Regions from separate parts of the Homo sapiens genome. Here region 2 is linked to region 1. The links are contacts of gene promoters, found by promoter capture Hi-C in human tissues and cell types (Jung and others, 2019). All regions are on one chromosome and are shown on one strand. Each heading gives the region's core, a stretch centred on a gene start or on the middle of the fragment in contact. The rest is flanking DNA. Distances are from core to core; before and after follow the strand shown. Region 1 holds the start of GLTP (glycolipid transfer protein). Region 2 has its middle 49 kb from the start of MVK.

Region 1 (3,847 bases), core at 697-3,196:
CAAGCAAGCAAAAAAAAAACAACAACAACCAACAACATCACAAAATTAAACAACTTTTCAATGCTAGAGCTGGTTCGCTCCCAAGCCCCCACCTGGAGAGTCAGTATTATCTCAAGACTGTGACACTGATAATAAGAAAGTTTTGTGCATTCAGCAGTATTGACTGAGCATCTGCTATGTGCCAGGCACTGTTCTGGGCACTGAGGACACAGAGTGGATGTAAAAAACCAAGCCCTTGCTCTCAGGTTGCTTACCCAGGTCTGGGAATCATACACACCAGACAATTGCACTCCCTCAAACACCGATTAATCACTCTAGCAAGGAACCAAAACTGGATTCAGGAACTTAAAACCACACCCCCTACAGCGAAGACCTATTTGGCACTTACGGCCTCGGTACTTTACACACACCACCTCATCGACTCCTCACAGCTGCCCTAGGAGATCAGCATCCCCGTTTCACAGCTGGGGACACTGAGGCTCACGAGGTGAAGGAGGGGAACTATAGCCTCCAGGTAACCACAACCATCCCAGAGCTCAGGACACTGTGGGAACTACCACCCCTAACAAGCCTTCTTTGCCCACTAAGTCGGACTGTCTTAAGATCTCCTGTCTTTGGGTTTCAGGTGGACTCTGCCCTGGGGGCTGGTATTTTCCTGCAAGGCCACCAAGTGAACCAGCAGGACAGGACAGAGCCCACATGGAGAAGGAGAATAGAGGCTCAGGTTGCACCCTTTACCCGGGACCCAAAAGGCAAAGGGCAGGGGCAGTGGTGCTGGCTTCTAGTTCCCATTTTCCATCTGGGGCCTTGGCTGGACTGGGCTAGGCTGAGGGAGTGCGGGAAGAGGGTCTGAAAGTGGACCGCCTTCCCAATGCGCCCAGGAACTTCCACACGACATACAGGGGAGGGGCTTCCTCTCGTAGAGCCCAAACTGAGGGAGGAATTGGTGCCAAGCTCTGTATGTCTGATGTCACCTCACAAAACAGCTCCCCCGACAACCCTCACCCCTGTCCTAAAAGGAGGAAAAACTTTAGGTGGTTTCCCCTAGAAAGAGGCCCTGGAATTTTGCAACTCCATCTTCAAAACCCTCTCCTTGTCCCCGCCTCACCAGGCTTCCTACCCTTGGAGGGGGAGATGGGAGTCTTTGATCTGGAATGGGCGAATTCTGAGGGAAGAAGGAAGGGTTTGTAGGTCCCATGAGGGAGAGGCTGGAAGCGTTCAAAGAGAAGGCTTATGAAATGGGGGGATTCATTGTAAGGGGAGCGAGTTGAGAGCCATCAGAAAGCGCCAGGGATGAAGGACTTTGGGGAAGAAGGGGCAGGAGGCTTTGGGGGAGATGGTGGATTACAGAATGCCTAAGGGAGATGGAAGATCATCCGTGTTGGGGGCACGGATGATCAGGGGGCATTTGGGGGATATGTAGGACTGTGAGGTGTCTAGGGAGAGGGAGGATTTGGGGAGGACAGGCAGGATGTGACATGTTTAGAGCGGAGAGGACTTGGGAGTGGTCCGGGAAAGGGAGAATTTAGGGTGAGTGGAGGGAAAGAGGATCTTGGGTGCCTGGGGAAACAGTACTTAGGGGTGTCTAGGGCAGAGATGGTTAGGGGATGCTCGGGGGAAGGAGGATTCGGGTGCGCGTGGGGCTGCGGGCCGCCTCCCCCCTCCATTCCGGCTCACCGAAGAAGGGCGGCAGGTGGGACACCGCCTCGAGGAAGGGCCCGGTCTCGATCTGCTTGTCCGCGGGCAGCGGCTTCAGCAAGTGTTCGGCCAGCAGCGCCATTTCGGGGTCGAGGCCCGCGGTGATGCCCCAGCCGGCGCCGCGGGCGTCGACACCGCCCCCCCGGCCGCCGCCGTCAGCGCCGGGGCCGTCACAGCCGCCCGCCGCAGGCTCCGGGGACGCCAGCGTCGCCACTTCCGCCCGCACGGCGCCCTCGTAGCCGAGCGCTCAGCGCCGCCCGCCGGCCGAGCGCCTAAACTGCCGGGCGCGCCGCCCCGCCCCCGCTCACCGGCTCCCAATCCGCGCCCGCCGCCGAGGTCTCCGCGCCCCCATTGGCCGGGGGGCCGGCCGGGGGCGGGACGCAGAGGAGGTGCGCCGGTTCATGGGTCCCGGAGGGCCCAAGTGAGCCGCTCCCAGGTGAGTCTTCCCCAGGTGTGCCTCCCGCCGCCCCCGGTTTGGCCCCCCAATCCGGGCGGGCCGACTCGGGCCAGGTCACAGCTCACAACCCGCCCACCAGCTCGGGTTACAGCCCCACCCAGCCAACGCTCCCCAGGACCCCCGTTTCCCCCAAAATTGTACCCCAGTAACCCCAAGTGACCTGGGTGGACACTGCTCTCCTGTTGGTCACGGTTCTCTTTCGCTACAACCGACGAGGACGCTCGATTGCTTGATTCTTGGTCTTCAATGACCTTATACCTGTTGAACACTGCTGAAGTCACAGTCTAACTCAGCCACTGCCCTGCTGGACAACTCCTGCTTCCCGAAATCTGGGGTCCAGTCTGCCCTCAACAGTCTGATGTTACCTGTTGTGAGGCAGAAAAATAGGGCCTGGAGGCAGGGAACATAAGGCTGACTTCCTAGACCTAAATCAAAAAGCACCTTAGCAATGACAGGAATGTAAACGGCTTTGCAACTTCACTTCATCCTCTCCATTCACGCCCTTTACACTTTGTAACTTCACATTCATCCTCTCCATTTACACAGACCACACACTCCAAGAAACATCCTCTCCATTTATACTTTGTAACTTCACATTCATCCTCTCCCACCAAGTAACATCCTCTCCATTTGCACATCCTCTCCATTTGCAATAGGGCACATTCTGAGTAAATGACTCTGTGACTTCACTTCATTCTCTTCATTTACATAGAATATTCACCAAGTAACCAATGGGAAACCTCTAGAGTATTGAGACCCTAGAAAATTCTGTAAGCAGAGCTCTTGAGCCTCTACGCTCAAGCCTGCTCCCAAACTGTGGGGTGGACTTTTCGTTCTCAGTAAATCCTTGCTTTTGCTTTCCTTGCTTCGTTTGTGTGTTTTCTCCAAGATGCCAAGTACCTGGACACCTTCTACTGGTAACAGCTGGAGCCAGCCCAGTTTATACCAATTCACCCACAACCTGGACACTTGTTTCCCAAACCTAATGTCTCTCCAACAGCCCAGGGTCCAGCTTCTCACACCTTGAATCACAAGTCATCTCAGCCACAACCCACCTAGATGCTTATGTCCTAAACCCAATGCCCAGCTTATGCAAAAATCTAACACACCATTGTTGAGAGCCTCTTATTCATTCCAGAATAAACATTTGCCATCCTTCCCACCCCTCCCCCACCCTCCACCACTATGTGTCATGCACTGCACTGGGCACTGAGGATAAAGTGAATGATACAGCAAAATCCCTGCCCTTGTGGAGCTGACAATCTGGTTGGGAACACAACACAATGCAATACACAAATTGGTAAGACAACTTCAGACACTGATGAGTATGTGAAGAAAATAAAACAGTGTAGTGACGGAGGATGACTGAAGCCTGTTGGCTGAGATCGGATGTAGGGGTTTGGGAGCAGTACCTCTGAAGAGGTGATATTTGAGCTGAGACCTAGAGGAGAAGTAGGATAGAGCCAGGTCAAAGACTTGGGGTGTGAGTCTGGCCAACATGGTGAAACCCCATCTCTACTAACAAATACAAAAGTTAGCTGGGTGTGGTGGCAGGAGCCTGTAATCCCAGCTACTCAGGAGGCTGAGGCAGGGAGAATTGCTTGAACCAGGGAGGTGGAGGTTGCAGTGAGCCAAGACCGTGCCATTGCACTCCAGCCAGAGCGAGCGAGACTCCGTCTAAAAAAAAAAAAA
Region 2 (3,847 bases), core at 482-2,981, 260 kb before region 1:
CTCTTTCTTCATCTTAAATACTCTTGGCAAAAAAGCCAGTTTCACTTAAGAATGCCCTTGATGAAAATTTAAAGGGTCTGGGCGTGGTGGCTCACACCTGTAATTCCAGCACTTTGGGAAGCTGAGGTGGGAGGATCACTTGAAGTCAGGAGTTCGAGACCAGCCTGGTCAACATGGTGAAACCTTGTCTCTACTAAAAACACAAAAATTAGCTGGGTGTGATGGCGGGCGCCTGTAGTCCCAGCTACCTGGGAGGCTGAGGCAGGAGAATCGCTTGAATCCGCGAGGCAGAGTTTGCAGTGAGCCGAGATCATGCTACTGCACTCCAGCCTGGCGATAGAGCAAGACCCTGTCTCAAAAAAAAGAAAAAAAGAAAATTTAAAGGTATTAATTAAAAAAATCTCAACCTTTGAACATGCCACTTCTAAATATTCTGTGTGACAAAATGGGAAGTATGTACAACAAGAACCCTCTCTCCTGGCTCCGTCGTTGCTTGAGACAAGCACCGTGTGACTGGGTTGCAAGCTGCGCTAGCCACTCTTCATGGAACACCATTTGTACTTGAAAGAACAACCAACCAACAAACTATAGCCTTTCAGACTGGGACATTGGCAGATATTCTCTTAAAAATGAACAAAGTTGCCTGTCAACTGACAGTATTTGTTGCCAATGATAAAATTTGACTTGCAAGCAAAAATTAGAATTTTGGAGAACTTGTGTCTGCCACCGTGGGTTTGACAGCTTCCTACTTAAATACTTTCCCAGAGACTGGTGGTATATTAGTGAATGTGACTTTTTTGGATATTGTATTATGAAATGTGACATCATCTAGAAGAGATGCATAATTCAGTAAACCAGTATTTTTTCCAATGACCAATGCATCATGTTACAAAATGAATAAAAGACCCATTCAAAGTGCAAAGCAGACCAGCGGGTTTTAACAGAGTAGGAAGAGCTCATTGATGTGGTTTCAGATACCATATTGTAACAAACCATTGAGAAACTACCACTTGTGAAGATCTGGTTTAGTATCCAAGAAGGATATCCATAATTATCTGAGAAGGCTATTAAAATACTCTTTCCTTTTTGAGCCAAATATCTGTGTGAAGCCAGATATTCTTCCCACACTTAAACCAAAACATGTTGCAACAAGCTGAATGCAAAAGCACATATGAGAATCCAGCTGTGTTCTATTAAGCCAGTCATTACAGAGATTTGCAAAAATGTTAAACAATAAATGAATTCCCATTTTATGGGTGCTGAAACTGGGGCTTAGAAAGTGGCAGAGCTGTGCCTTGGATCAAATCCCTTTCTCTGCTGTGCCTCAGTCTCCCCATCTGGTCGCCGACCTAGAAGCTGATGAGCAAAGGTCTTCTCACATCTCCTGCCCAGGCATCAGTGCCAGGCTCTGGCCCCTTGGCCCTCTTCCCCACCTGCTGCCCAAGGTGGGCGGGGTCCAGGCCCTGGGAGGCTGGTGGCCAGCCTCACGTCCCCAGGCCTGGCAAGGAGATGACCAGGGTCGTTTGCAGTAATGAATTGCGGACGGGTGGCGGCCGGGTGAAGGAGTGCGCCGGCCATGGCCCGTAATGCCTCACACGCCAGGTCTGGCACGGGTAATTTACTGCCACCGACAATAACATATTTCACTTCCCGTCGCCCCAATGAAGATTAGTTGTGTTTGCAAGTGGCTGAGTACACAGTCAATTCCGCTTAAACGTTTACAGTCAACTGAGCACAGATAATGCCCCCTCCGAACATGTATCTGTGCCTCCTGCAGCTCGGGGAGGGGCTCAGAGCAGAGGAAGGGGGTCCCCGCCCCAGGAAGGGACTGCAGCTGCTGCTTCACCGAGACCCAGGCTGTATAGTGGGAGGGATTTGGGAGCCGGGGGTTGGGCTGAGATCTATAGCTTCCTTTGATGCCCCCCTCCCCCACCTCTTTTCAGATTGTCCTTTAAAATCATTCATTCAACAAACACTTTGCTAAGGACCTCTGTATAGCCTTTAGGTACAGGGAGAATTCAAAGCCATGATTATATTTGATTCTAGCGACATCCTAGGAGGCATATTTGCTCTCCAGTTTCCAAAAGAAGGGAAGTTAAGGCTCAGGGAGGCTCAATAGCTTTCCCAAGGTCACATAGCTGGTGCCATGCAGAGTCAGGATTTGAACCCAGGCCTGATGGGGTTTCTGAGTCTCATATTATTCCTAGTGGTCCTGATTGTACAAGCTTGAGCCCTGGCCTGGGCTAGATTGTCTGCCCTGTCCAACAATGGCCCCACAGCTGCTAGAGGAACTCTAGATTCATATTCCCTGTGCACCTATATTTGGGTTGACCAGTAGACTCTGGTTTGGAATCCCTGGGTCAGGTAGGGGGTCCTATGGCAGGGCTGGGGTGCTTTGAGCCTGAAGTCATTTAAGCCTGGACAGAGGAGGGAGGCCTGGAATTTTTCTTGTCAGGTGAAGGAGTTTGCTCCTGAGAAGCAGGCTTCTTTTCTTTTTTTTTCTTTTTCCTTTTTTCTTCTTTTTTTCTTTCTTTCTTTTCCTTTTTTTTTTTTTGACAGGGTCTTACTCTATCACCTAGGCTGGAGTGCATTGAGGCAGTCATGGCTCACTGCAGCCTCAACCTCCTAGGCTCAGGTGGTCCTCCCACCTCAGCCTCCCAAGTAGCTGGGACCACAGGTGCACACCATCATCCCCAGCTAATTTTTTTTTTCTTTTTGAGATGAAGTCTCACTCTGTTGCCCAGGTTGGAGTGCAGTGGTGCCATCTTGGCTCACTGCAACCTCCGCCTCCTGAGTTCAAGCCATTCTCCTGCCTCAGCCTCCCGAGTAGCTGGGACTACAGGCGCCCACCACCATGCCCAGCTAATTTTTATATTTTTTGTAGAGACTGGATTTCCCCATGTTGCCCAGGCTGGTCTGGAACTACTCCTGGACTCAAACAATCTGCTTACATCAGCCTCCCAAAGTCCTCCCAGGTGTGAGCCACCATGCCTGGCCAACAAACAGGCTTCTTTTTTTTTTTTTTTTTTTTCCTGAGACAAAGTCTCATTCTGTTGCCTAGGCTGGAGTGCAGTGGCACCGTCTCAGCTCACCACAACCTCCGCCTCCCAGGTTCAAGTGATTCTTCTGCCTCAGCCTCCCGAGTAGCTGGGATTACAGGTACCCACCACTTACGCCCAGTTAATTTTGTATATTTAGTAGAGATGGGGTTTCACCATGTTGGCCAGGATGGTCTCAAACTCCTGACCTCAAGTGATCCACCTACCTTGGCCTCCCAAAGTGCTTTGATTACAAGTGTGAGCCACCGCACCCAGCCCAAACAGGTTTCTTGATGAGGGTTGCCCAGTCCAGTCCTGGGGCCCAGCTCCCCACCAGACCTACCCCTGACACTTGCAGGGTCTAGAGTTGGTATGCATGGAGGCCCTGGCCCCAGGCCACCCAGCCCTGTCTTCCCAACATGGGCTGCAGCCAGGACTGGAAAGACCTTGCTTACATATATGTAGATGCCAGCCCACCAGGCCCAGCTCCAGACACACCCACCCCCTGAAACGGCTGCCCCTTGGCCAAGAGGCCTACTCTTACTGGTGGCAGATTTGTCCTGGGAGCATGGACCTTGGATGGGCTTAGGGAAGGGCCCCTCCAGGCCACAGAAGGGGGCTGAGGGCTGTTGGAGAAGGGGATTCCAGGATCTCAGCTTCTGGATTCGGTCAGGAGAGGGGCAGGCCCCCGGTGGGCACGTCCCCTGTGGGAGGGGGCTCAGCTGAGTCCTCTAAGTAGCAAGCAGGTAGTCCAGGTCCAAGGTGATGCCATCTCCAAGCTATCCTTGCTCATGGCCAGGGGGGTGTTG

Evidence for each region. The method cuts DNA at HindIII sites, captures the fragments that hold promoters and counts their contacts. A contact is called where the count stands out against the background at its distance.
Region 2: a contact is called between a fragment that was not itself captured here and the fragment with the promoter of GLTP in region 1, in 1 of the 25 tissues and cell types used here (adrenal gland).

Annotation. Positions count from the first base shown.
Region 1 is chr12:109,878,595-109,882,441 of GRCh38, forward strand. It overlaps GLTP (glycolipid transfer protein), which reads right to left and starts at 1,947. Exons shown (of 5, transcript NM_016433.4): 1 at 1,678-1,947. The coding sequence starts at 1,780. LOC124903012 (a long non-coding RNA gene) reads right to left here and starts at 2,807. Exons shown (of 3, transcript XR_007063455.1): 1 at 2,767-2,807; 2 at 2,521-2,580; 3 at 2,304-2,413. It also overlaps a transcript of TCHP not described here. RefSeq lists a silencer at 1,655-2,204 and an enhancer at 2,529-3,030. The HindIII fragment of the contact is 8,000 bases long and covers 1-3,616 here.
Region 2 is chr12:109,620,464-109,624,310 of GRCh38, forward strand. No RefSeq gene overlaps it. Among named protein-coding and RNA genes, the nearest start is that of MVK, 49 kb to the left of the region's middle. The HindIII fragment of the contact is 6,657 bases long and covers 1-3,847 here.